Regions from separate parts of the Homo sapiens genome. Here regions 2, 3 and 4 are each linked to region 1. The links are contacts of gene promoters, found by promoter capture Hi-C in blood cells and fetal thymus (Javierre and others, 2016). All regions are on one chromosome and are shown on one strand. Each heading gives the region's core, a stretch centred on a gene start or on the middle of the fragment in contact. The rest is flanking DNA. Distances are from core to core; before and after follow the strand shown. Region 1 holds the start of KRTAP20-3 (keratin associated protein 20-3). Region 2 holds the start of KRTAP19-6 (keratin associated protein 19-6). Region 3 holds the start of KRTAP21-1 (keratin associated protein 21-1). Region 4 holds the start of KRTAP21-3 (keratin associated protein 21-3).

Region 1 (3,149 bases), core at 83-2,582:
CAAATCGGGGATTACCCTAAAGGTCAGTGGTGAAGGAAAATTTTCAATTATTTTTAATCATCTTAAGAAATGATAGTATCTAGATTCAGCCTGCCTTTGAGAACTTAAGTCTACATATAAGTACATGATACAGACAGAGTCAATATCCCTACAGAAAAATTAATAGTCATGCCTTCTGTTATATTTGGGTCTCAAAAATGTCTACTTTACGTTCCTGTGACTTTGGAATCAGATAAGATTCTCAATGCTTTTCTTTTCTCCGAAGAAACATATCTACATTGCAGTGCAGGTACAAGATAATCAACCAAACAACTTTTTAAAGAATGCTTAAGGTGTGGAGAAGAAGGAACTAAACAGGCAAGAAAAGGGCACTACTTTTAAGAGAGCATAGCAATAGGAAAACTACAGAATAATATGTGATTGGTGGGAGTTTGTACAGAATAAATCACAGTTGATCCTTGAACAATGCAGGGATTAGGAGTGCCAACCTCCACGCAGTTGAAAATCTGAGTATAACTTTTGACTCCCCAAAAACTTAACTACTAATAGCCTACTGTTGACCAGAAGCCTTACCAATAACATAAACAGTTGATTAATACATGCTTATGTTACCTGTAATGAGAGATTATACTCCTATAATAAAGTAGGCTAAAGAAAAGAAAATTTTATTAAGAAAATAAAGAAAAAGAGAAAATGGATTTACTATTCACTAAGTGGAAGTGGATCATCATAAAGGTCTTCAGCCTTATTGTCTTCATGTTGAGTAGGTTGAGGAGGAGAAGGAGGAGGAGGGGTTGGTCTTGCTGCCGGAGTGGCAGAGGTGAAGAAAATCTGCTTAATATAAGCGTATCTGTGCAGTTCAAACTCATGGTATTCAAGAGTCCACTGTATTTGCTACTAAGTTTTATAGCGATAACATCACAGCTGTGTTGATTAAGATTTAAATATGCATATAAGAAGAAGGGTATTATTAGCAAAGTGATCGGAAGAGGATGGCATTTGCCTCCTCCACGTGATGTCATCCAACATAGCTACAAAGGTTAAATTCGGCATCAGTGTGAGTAAGGTCATGGAACTCAGTATTTTTTTTTCCTTTAAAGTCTATCAGCTGTTTGGCAGGATCATAACATACTGAGAAGAAAATCTCAATTTTATCAGGATAGGGAGTCTTTTTTTAAAATCTAAAGATACAAGATTAATGAGATTTTTAAATACAGGTTGGTCTATATGACAATGTCAGGAGTGCCTGTGGTTTGTCACACCTCCACTGAGACTGATAAAAGACCCAGTATTTTAGTGTTTTTATGCACTAAAACTTATGCTGGCCTCTCAGGCTAGAGACTTAAATCCTGACACAATGAGCTACTATGGCAACTACTACGGAGGACTGGGCTATGGCTATGACTGTAAATATAGTTATACCTCTGGCTTTGGTGCCTTTAGAATCCTGGACTGTGGCTACAGATGTGGCTGTGGTGGGGTATGGATTTGACTGCTGCCACCAATATGATTATGCTACATGCTTATTATCAGGCACTGACTGAATAATATCTACAATTGGGTCCATTTTCTTATGAGACAGGGGTGCTGTTCTACTACACTTTTTTTAATTTGTTTAACCCAATTAGAATTCTTAATGATTCCCTATAATCCCAGCACTTTAGGAGGCCGAGGCGGGTGGATCACCTGGGGTTAGGAGTTCGAGACCAGCCTGGCCAACATGGCAAAATCCCATCTCTACTAAAAGTTAAAAAAATAGCCAGGTGTGGTGGTGGGTGCCTGTAGCCCCAGCTACTGGGGAGGCTGAGGCAGGAGGATCACTTGAACCCAAAGGCAGAGGTTGCAGTCAGCCGAGATGGCACCACTGCACTCCAGCCTGAGCAACAAAATGAGATTCCATCTCAAAAAAACAAAAATAATGCTTAGTTATTCAATCTAATTCTAGGCAAAGAACACACATCATTAAATTCACACTAAATCCACATCAGTGCCCCAGATTAACTACATTTTTCTCTTCCAAACTGATGTGTTTTCATAATTTACCAAGCAAATTACTTTTTGATATGTTTCAGGAGTAGGGAGCTCTAGGTTTATTTTTAATTAAACTTACTTTGGCCAGGCCAATGTCATTCATTTTTTAAATTTATTAATTACTCACTTGTTTAATAAGTCCTCATTAAGTAATTTCTATATAGGGCTTCCTGTTAAGTCTTAGTGTTACTTATGGGAGAAGAGTTTTTAAGCAGAAAAACAAATGTTTAAATAAACATGTATGCTACAACATGATAGGTGATGTAATAGCCACGTAGGAACACAGAGGAGAAGCTCATGTTTGGATGCAAAAGAGCGAGATTGTAGAGCAAACAGATCAAAAATATTCTCATTGAAGGTTACATTTGAATAAATTTTTAACCAACGAAAAATACATTGGAGGTAAAGTGTATGCCAGGCAGGGGAAACAAATATGCAAAGCCATGAAAAAAGTATTGCACTGCAAAGTCATAAATTGATGTTATTTCTTGAGAGAACAGTGGGCAAAGTCACTGGCAGGAAATGAAGCCCTGGGCAGTGAAGAGAAACTAGAACATCAAGGCCATATATATTTTGCAATGGGTGTACTGGATAATGTTTTATAAAGTTGTAATATTTTCCTTTACCTGGATGAGATTGGAAACTATTATTCTAAGTGAAGTAACTCAGGAATGGAAAACCAAACATCGTATGTTCTCACTGATATGTGGGAGCTAAACTATGAGGATGCAAAAGTATAAGAATGATACAATGGACTTTGGGAATGTGGGGGGAAGGGTGAGAAGGAGGTGAGGGATAAAAGACTACAAATATGGTGCAGTGTATACTGCTTGGGTGACAGGTGCACCAAAATCTCACAAATCACCACTAAAGAACCTACTCATGTAATCAAATACCAACTGTACCCCAATAACTCATGGAAAAATAAAATAAAAATAAGAAGCGCATGTTTTATACAAATAATTATGGCATCCAATTGAAGGAAAGGTGGCCAAGGAGTATGACCACAGACCAAACGACCATTCTGGAGGCTGTGTAAGCAGCCAATGCAAGGTCTTAATGTAAAAGCGGCAACTAAGATTCCTATGAAGGCCTAGATCAAATAGATTATTATGGGA
Region 2 (3,103 bases), core at 277-2,776, 100 kb before region 1:
GTAAAAATGTTGTCATGGGGTTTTTCTTTTCTTTTTTTTTCTTTTCTTTTCTTTTCTTTTTTCTTTTTTTAAACAGAGTTTCATTCTGTCACCCAAGCTGGAGTGTAGTGACATAATCTCGGCCCACTACAACTTCTGCCTCCCAGGTTCAAGCGATTCTCCCACCTCAGCCTCCCAAGTAGCTGGGACCACAGGCACGTGCCACCACACCCAGCCAATTTTTGTTTTTTTAGTAGAGACGGGGTTTCACCATGTTGACCAGGCTGGTCTCGAACTCCTGACCCTGGGTGATCCACCCGCCTCGGCCTCCCAAAGTGCTGGGGTTACAAGCATGAGCCAGCGTGCCCGGCCTCTCTCGGTGTTTTTAATTCAGACATCCCTCAGGTTTACTTTTGAGAAATAATATCTTTTGGGAAGCAAGGCTTGAACTCTACAGGTAGGAACACAGAAAGACAAGTAATTTAACTTGTCAAGGAGGTAGAGTAGATTCTCATATGTTCAATAGTTTAAAATTGATTATACATAAAGGACATTATACATTTGATAAGTCAGTGTTGGGTACATGCGAGCTTTGATAGCATTCTTTAGACCTTACGTATTATTACAAATATTATTTATATTAACTCAATGTTTTATTTAAAATTCGCTTTCATTGATTAACATAGAATTACTGTGCTTTGAGATAAACCTCAGAATACAAACACACTAATTGGAATGAAGATTGCAATAAGTTATTGTTTAAAACTAAGTCATAAAAATAATAGTGTACATAATCATATTCTAAAAACAAAATCACACACAAAACCACTGAAAACAGATAAAAAGTAAAGACAGATGAAAGTACACAGTGATTTTGTCCATCTTATTCTTTTATATCTTCAGGACTTAGAATGGTGCCCAAATTTGGAGACACACAATGAATATATGTTGAATAAAATATATTATTGAGGCAAAACTGTTGAAATAAAAACACCAATTCAGAGGAAAGAAGACAAACAGCTTGATTGAAGTCTCATCAATGCATTTGAAATGTACTAAAATGAATTGATAAAGCCATGTTTGCTATTCAAGTTAAACGTGTTTATTTAAAACTATTTTAAAATACATGTCACAACAGATGTCAGTGACTAAATAATAATAGGTGAAACCCTGATTCAATGTAATGATTCCAGATTCTTCCATAAAAACTGATGGCTAGTTCCTTCTGGAGCATGAAGCCAAAAAATGGTAGGTATTTTCTCTACATTGAGAAAAGTGTTCGCCTTGCTGAAGCATACGGGCAAGATCTTGGAGTTAGAGTATGAGAATCAGCAAGTTTTTTAGTAGAATCCAGAGAATCCATATCCTTCACGGCATGATGGGCGGCAGCAGCCATATCTATAGCCTCCATAGCCAGAGCCATATCTGTAGCCTCCACAGCCACAGCCATAGCCCAGACCACCAAAGCCTCCACAGCCATATCCCAGGCCTCTGTAGTAGCTGCCATAGTATCTCATGGTGTCAGGGACTAGAGATTCAGTTCAATGCTAATGATGAGTTTCCTGAGTGTAGGTGTCTCTAACTTCTCAGAATGATTTTATACTCTAAGTAGTGGGTGTCATGAACAACAATGACAGGTGATCTTATTTCCACATAACAGAATAATTTTAAGTCTAACAATTGTTTATTTTTTTTCTTTTCTTATGTAACAAAGGGTCCAAACTATTATTTAAAGACTTTTAGTCTTTAGTTTGCATTCCTAAGAACAAAATATTTTGAAGATGAAAAATGATTATAGCCACTTCAAAGGCCAGGCTGGTGTTGTAATTAAAATGGTCTAATCGGGTTGATAGCTTCCAGTAACGCTGTAATTACATAACCTCATATTGCTTTTCTTTTTAATTTGCAGTCCATCGTCTTGGTTACTTCATTCCCAGAACCCAAGGACTTCTCTTCATGGTAGTCAGGGCATAGTCACAAAGTCATTAGTGATTTCCAGTAGTCAAATTTAGAGGAAACCTTGGTTTTTGACTCATTTGAACTTTAATTGACCTTTGACATTGCTAACCTTCCATCCATTCATTCTTTTGTAAAGCTTTCTTGCCTTAATTTCTATGAGAAACCTTCAATTAGCTTCCTCTGCCAATTTTTTGTTAGGCTTCTTCCCAATTTTTTATTCATCCATTAACTTCAAAAGTGTACCTTTTCCTCTGCATACACTTTTCCCATGAAGTTCCATTAAATATTATTTTTCTTTTTTCAAATTTTATTTTTAAGAATACATAGTAGAGTATATATATCTATGGGGTATATGAAATACTTTTATACAGACATGACAATGCATACTAATCACTGGTTAATGGAGTAATAATCACTGGTAAATGATAAATAGGGTATCCATCCCCTCAAGCATTTATCCTTTGTGTTAAAGCAATTCAATTACACTCTCTTATTTTAAAATGTTCGATTAAATCAATAATTTAATTTAAATGCAATTTAATTATACATTTTAAAATAACTAAGAGAGTATAACTTAGTATGGCCACACTTTTGTGCTATCAAATACTAGGTCTTATTCATCATTTCTATTCCTTTGTACCCATTAACCACCCCTACTCCTCCATCACTCACATCCCTCCCCACCCCTACCCTGCACCCACCTACTCCCCTTTCCATTCTCTGTTAACCATCCTTCTAGTCTCTATCTCCATGAGTTCAATTGTTTTCAATTTTTAGCTCCCACAAATAAGTGAGAACATACAAAGTTTGTTTTTCTGTGCCTGACTTATTTCACTTAGCATAATGACGACCAGTTCCATCCATTCTGTTGCAAATGACAGGATCTCATTATTTTTTATGGTTGACTAGTACTCCATTGTGTATACATACCACATTTTCTTTATCCATTCATCTGTTGGTGGAAAATTAGGTTGCTTCCAAATCTTTGCTATTATGAACAGTGCTGCAACAAACATGGGAGTGCACATATCTCTTTGATATACTGTTTTCCCTTCCTTTGGATGTATACCAGGCCTCCATAGTAGCTGCTGTAGTAGCTCATGGTGTCAGGGACTAGAGATTAGGTTTGATGCTAAAGATGAGTTTAGCACCAGCAGTGGGATTT
Region 3 (2,963 bases), core at 105-2,604, 110 kb after region 1:
CTTTTGTCAGATGTAGATACATTTGATAGTATATTTTTTCTTTGAACTTACCCTTTTTTAGGTTTTTATTTCCTCTTGCCTAACACTTGACCCTGACTCAAAATTTTCAACAATCCTGGAAGTGATCTCTCCTATTGCATTACTTTTTTTTGTGTGTGTGATGGAGTCTCAGTGTGTCACCCAAGCAATCTCGGCTCACTGCAACCTCCACCTCCTAAGGGTTCAAGCAATTCTCCTGTCTCCACCTCCTGAGTAGATGGAATTACAGGCACGCACCACCAAGCCCAGCTAATTTTTGTATTTTTAGTAGAAACAGAGTTTCACAATGTTGGCCAGGCTGGTCTCGAACTCCTGACCTCAGGTGATCCACCCACCTCAGCCTCCCAAAGTGCTGGGATTATATTACTTCTTTAAGCACTCAGGCTATATCTCCTCCCTGAGACTTTTGTCATAACATCCTGAATAGGTGTCACTTTGCCTCCCTTTCCCCCTCCAGCTCCATTCTAGACACTCAGTGCCATTTCCAAAGCACAGTTCTGAAATACTCTGTGATTTGTGCTTGGGTATGTGAGAACCTGAGCATGTGGGATATGAGAAGCAGGTAGAGAAGACATTATTTATGATGCAAGCATAAGAGGAAATAATTGCGTTATATCAAGGAAGTACCTAAGGTTCAGCCAACATACTGTTAGCCCAATTTTCAAGAGATTCCAAAACACCCCAAGAAAGAGTAATTCACAAGCAAGTACACAAAGATTTTTAGGAATAAAGAACCATTTTTATTACAAATGATTGACTTCCGCAACTGTAGATGTTATGATCATTAACACAGTCATAACAGAGAATCAGAGATTAAGGGAGCAAAAGATAACATTTGGAAAACAGTCAGATGACACCATGGATCCTATGGCCATGATTTCATTCAAAGAAATGTGAGGCTAGAGGTCGAAGATTCTGTCAAGCATGTAATTCTTGGATATAGAAATCTTGGAGTACGAATCCTTGAATCAGCATTATCTTCAGACGTGTCATTTTAGAAGCAAATGGTCCTCCGACAGTGATGTTTTAGCAGGAAGAATAGCATCTTCTAAAGCAAAATGGCCGGTAGCCACAGTAGCCAGAGCCAGAGCCATATCCACAGCCATAGCCAGTTCCATAACCACAGCCATAATGGGAGCCAAACCCACAGCCATACCCACAGCCATAGCCAGTTCCATAGCCACAGCCACAGCCAGAGCCAGAGCCATAGCCACAGCCACAGCCGGAGCCATAGCCACAGGAGTTGCCGTAGTAGTTGCAACACATGTTGTCAAGAGGAGAGAATTGAGATGGGTTTCAAGAAGATGCTTCTGAGGTGTGGATGTCTTCTACTTCCCTGAGACCTTTATATACTGTCAGTAATTGCCAAAGCATATCACTCATTCCCTGACTTAGGCAACAAATATTTAATCAATTATTATGTGCCAGTCACTGTTGACCATCAATAATATTTTGCTTAAAATGAGCCAATTATTTTGGAGACTCTAGTTTCATTTCAGGAACATCATTTTAATCTGCTCTGCCAAAGAACTGCCTCAATGAAATCATGTGCCCAAATATAAAGCTGATACTAATTTTCAAAATCTCCTATCAGTAAATTTATATCTTACATAACAAGTTTTGGGAGGATAATAACAAAATTTTATCCTTTTTTTCCTCTCTTTTTTCCTAAAATGTCTACCTCTACCCATAGGGAAGGAGACACTCCTATCTCCTTTCCTGAGTCATTACAACTTCTTGCCAGACTTCTTTCTCCAACTCACTCTGCACTTCCACACCTACCCCTTGTCCAACCTCCCTCAAATCCCAAGAAACATATTCACATCTGATCATTCAAAGCCAGAATGTATGCTATCTGCAAGTGCTTCCTACATTTTCCTTCCATCCACCAGGCAAACCAAGACCCTGGGGAGGCAGAGAAGCCCTCCTTTTGTCTCCCATTTCTTCAGCTATATAAGTAATTGTCATTGAGGAGCCTTTTTAAAACTAAACAGCTTCATTTGGATAAGGAAGTAAAAAAATTCATTCGACCAGAAACTCAGTTCTTTCCTCCAATACAGATTTCATCAAAGTTTTGCATGATGAAATACAGATACATTCCTAGAATTTAATAAACCATTTTTCTTCTCCTTTCACTACTATTCCTTGGACATTTACTTCAGAAGCTAAAGGATAGTGGACAATTTTAGGTTACTGACAGCAAAAGCCCACCATTAACAACTAACCCTTCTATGATATAAAGTAGCACAAAAATAAATTTTGTCCCGTTTCCATACACGCATTTCACACTACTCATTCAAAATTCTCAATTACCCACTTATTACAAGTTCTCAATCTTCTACAAAAATATTCATCGTGATTTTGAAATCCGAGGTGCCCTCCTTCTTCCCAACAATCCTCTCTATCACACTTACCTTTTCAAGATACAAAAGAGGAAAATTAGTATCATTTTTTCTGCCATTAGTATTTTTCTCATCACCCTCAATTATCAACCAAAAAAACCTTCTGTTTATACATCAAAAGTCAGATCTGGAATCACTTTCTACAGGATGCCTTTCCTCATTGCTACTGTGGATTACATTTTCCCTTCAGTTGGAAATCTTTCCTTTTTTTTCTGCTATCTGTCACTCGTCTCATCTCATTTCTCTGCTATGTTTAGTCCCTTAAAAAAAGCATAAATAGATCTCTGTCTCAATTTTTTCTTTTCCTTTAGTTTCTTTCTGTTTTTTCATCCTTGAAATTCAAAACTATAAATTCTACTTCACAAGTGGATCCTCTTGTTTGCTCCTATATGCAGACGAATATAATAGATTTGTCATGCTTTGGTGAAACTTTATCCTGTTTACTAATAAAAGCATGATATTCTTGAGGAAAGAGACTATACCTTTCACAGTAGAAATTCCAGGCAAACCTGAGACCCAATC
Region 4 (3,243 bases), core at 108-2,607, 76 kb after region 1:
AGTCTCACTCTGTCACCGGGCTTTCTTAAATAATTTTATAATTATGTAACAAATATAACTGAAGAAAAAAACAACTGATTTTTGACTTTGATTTTGAGAGAGAGAAAGATATGAGGAGAAGTAGAAGGAGGAGGAGAAGGGAGAAGAGGAGGAAGAGGAGAAGTAGATGCAAGGTGATGAACAGGGAAATAGTGTAAGAATGTCATTTCTATTTCAAGTGGAATGTTAGGCAAAGTCTCCTAAGGAGTTCATATTAACCAGAATCCCAAAAAAAGTGACAGAACTGTCTATGAGAATGTTTGAGAAAAGGCCGACGGAATTAGAATTAGAATCATTGTGTTCGTGTGTGTGTGTGTGTGTGTGTGTGTGTAGCCAAGGCGGGTGGATTATAAGGTCAGGAGTTCGAGACCAGCCTGGCCAACATGGTGAAACCCCGTCTCTACTAAAAATACAAAAATTAGCCAGGCGCGGTGGCGGGTGCCTCAATCCCAGCTACTTGGGAGGCTGAAGCAGGAGAATCACTTGAACCTGGGAGGCGGAGGTTGCAGTGAGCCAAGATCGCGCCACTGCACTCCAGCCTGGGTGACAGAGCGAGACTCCATCTCGAAAAAAAAAAAAAATGTTTCAGTGATTCTCTCTCCTCCTCCCTTTTCTTTGGCTGATAATAATCTACTATTCTACACTAAGGATGATATCATTCCACTTCCTTTCTTCATTTTGTATATTTAGAAGTATATCTAATTAACAGGTACATATTTATTTAATATTAAATATGTGGTGGATACTGACAATTAAATAACTCAAGTTTTATGTAGAGTAGAAAAGATAAAGAGAAAAAGAGTTATTGAAAGTTAAGAAGAAATTTCTAAGAAGCTAAGGATCAACTAATCTACATAGTGGTCTGGCTTTCAAGGGGGTAAAACATGCCCCAAATTGGTGTTGACTCACACACGCACACAAAGAGCATTTTATATTTTTCAAAATTTCAAAATAGTCATATTTTCCATCTCTCAGTGAAACCACATTATGTCTATGACTAACAGGTACTTTGAAGACAAATGGAGTTTTCACCAGATGAGTCATTTTTCTCTAACGGAGAACTATCAGGATTGAAGGTGATTAAAGCAGAACAGATCTTTGAGAAACTAAATAAGAAACAATGCTCAATGGCATTTCTTAGAAGCAAAAAATATCAGATCATCTATAACAGAATATTTATTTTCATAACAACCATAATAACCGTTACAGCCACAGTGGGTGCTGTGTATACAGCCATACCCACAACCATAGCAAGAGCCAAATCCACAGCTCCCACACACACTTTTGTAATTGAAATACATAGTGTCAGGAGATGAGAATTCAGCCAGGTAACAGCATTTCTGGAGTTTGGAACCCTTGGGATCTTTCTATATAATAAGAGGTCTGCAAAGTGTGTGCCATCCCTACTTTGCCTTCTCATTCCCACAAGAATTTATATTTAACAAGCTTGTTGTTGTTTTATTCTGTGTCCTAAGAAAGCCTCTCATTTTAGACCTTCATTTAATTCCTGCAAGTTAATCATAGACTGTAAAAAGTAATTTGTACACTCTGTATACATGTTCTCAGTGAGCCCCAAATGTACACTCCACAAATATCATGATGCTAAATCTTGCAGGGAAGTACTTCCCTCAGCTCTAACCCAAAACATTGAGAATCCCCATCCCCAGCCTCCTAGAGAAAGGAAGGGGCTTAGTGATTCCTACCTTTTCAGGTGCCACCAGTATTACCATCCAATCCACAACTGTACTACTCAGGAGAGGATAGGCATAGGAAGGCTAAATTGAGAAACATGCGTTCAATTCTATAATATTAGAATTTATTGAGAACTTTCCTAAAAAACAGAACATGACAGTAGGCACTGCTGAAAATAACATAAAAATAAAAATGAAAAACATAAATAAGACCAAGAACAGACCTTCAATGAACTCCCAGCTTAGTAAGGAAGAGAAACATTTACACAAAAAAAGTCTCAGATTGATGCGGTTAGAGAAAAAGGAAAGAGAAATCCTATGAAATAGACCTCAAAACAATCCAGACCAGGTCCACTTAGGGCCTTCATCCATGCTGGGCTTTCACCTGCAGTTTTTACAATTTAACACCCATATCTATGACTCATTCCCTCATTGCCATCAGAGTGTGTTCAAATGTCACTCAAGGAGGCCCTCCCTGAACAGTATTATTTATAGCTAGCACCCTCCCACAGATATATCTTTATTCTCTACTTAGCATTTATCAAGCCATTTATCACCATATGATAGACTTGCATTTTACTAATTTTGTTGACTGTTTTTCTCACTGGAATATAGGATATCTGTGAAGGCAGGAATTTCTTTTTTTCTTTAGGGAATAAAATAGATTTTAAAAAAGTATAATAAACTGGGGCCAAATAATAAAGAGCTTTGAATATTAAGGTAAAAAGTGTGGAATTCATTCTAAAGGTAATGGAGAACCAGAGAAGATTTTGAGCAAATTAATGGCATAATCAGCTCAATATTTTGAGATACAGAAATCACAACCATTTATCCAGTGTACTTAGTAATGTCCTATTTCTTCGAAACCATTATTTGCTAAATTATTCTCTTGAGCAAAGATCTTTCCTTGAGCACTAGCCATGGTTGCATTGAATTTGTGGCATTTTATTTTCCAATTATGTTTCCAGGAACACTAGGACTGGGAGGTATTAAAATGTATTCCAAGAAATAGAGTTTCCAAGATTTTAAAATGTGCTATCAAACACTATAAAATAAAAACACCTTCAGAGTATTCACAATTTACATATGCGCTGTAAGTTTTACTTGCACCTAAATGCCAGGTATTGTAGTAGGAGTACAAACTGGAACGCCATGATAGCATTTTAATTATCCTTAGGAGGACAACTGTGTAAAGAAAACCAGCTTGACATTCTTCAATAAACTAACATATTTGTGTAACAAAATAACTTTTTAAGTTGAGAAATAACTTTTAAGTTCTTTTGAAAGTTATCGTCTTAGAGTATATGTTCAAATATGAAAATCTTATGAGTGTTCAAGTTTCCAAATCACTAAAGAGACTGTTGGCGTTTTTATACAGCACAAGCAAATAGGCCACATTAAGTCAAACAGGTCATCTTTTTTTTTTTTTTTTTTTTTTTTTTGAGACGGAGTCTCGCTCTGTCGCCCAGGCCGGACTGCGGACTGCAGTGGCGCAATCTCGGCTCACTGCAAG

What was found. The method cuts DNA at HindIII sites, captures the fragments that hold promoters and counts their contacts. A CHiCAGO score of 5 or more calls a contact.
Region 2: the fragment with the promoter of KRTAP19-6 here is called in contact with the fragment with the promoter of KRTAP20-3 in region 1 in 1 of 17 cell types (neutrophils); the score reaches 7.5 in neutrophils.
Region 3: a contact is called between the fragment with the promoter of KRTAP21-1 here and the fragment with the promoter of KRTAP20-3 in region 1, in 1 of 17 cell types (neutrophils). The highest score is 9.1, in neutrophils.
Region 4: the fragment with the promoter of KRTAP21-3 here is called in contact with the fragment with the promoter of KRTAP20-3 in region 1 in 1 of 17 cell types (neutrophils); the score reaches 12.8 in neutrophils.

The regions. Positions count from the first base shown.
Region 1 is chr21:30,641,532-30,644,680 of GRCh38, forward strand. KRTAP20-3 (keratin associated protein 20-3) reads left to right here and starts at 1,333. Exons shown (of 1, transcript NM_001128077.1): 1 at 1,333-1,605. The coding sequence starts at 1,358. The coding sequence ends at 1,492. The HindIII fragment of the contact is 10,269 bases long and covers 1-3,149 here.
Region 2 is chr21:30,540,338-30,543,440 of GRCh38, forward strand. KRTAP19-6 (keratin associated protein 19-6) reads right to left here and starts at 1,527. Exons shown (of 1, transcript NM_181612.3): 1 at 1,198-1,527. The coding sequence starts at 1,496. The coding sequence ends at 1,320. The HindIII fragment of the contact is 6,762 bases long and covers 1-2,072 here.
Region 3 is chr21:30,754,074-30,757,036 of GRCh38, forward strand. KRTAP21-1 (keratin associated protein 21-1) reads right to left here and starts at 1,355. Exons shown (of 1, transcript NM_181619.2): 1 at 942-1,355. The coding sequence starts at 1,305. The coding sequence ends at 1,066. The HindIII fragment of the contact is 7,815 bases long and covers 1-2,963 here.
Region 4 is chr21:30,717,420-30,720,662 of GRCh38, forward strand. KRTAP21-3 (keratin associated protein 21-3) reads right to left here and starts at 1,358. Exons shown (of 1, transcript NM_001164435.1): 1 at 1,106-1,358. The coding sequence starts at 1,340. The coding sequence ends at 1,164. The region is part of intron 2 of LOC105372773 (a long non-coding RNA gene); the gene reads right to left. The HindIII fragment of the contact is 10,011 bases long and covers 1-1,483 here.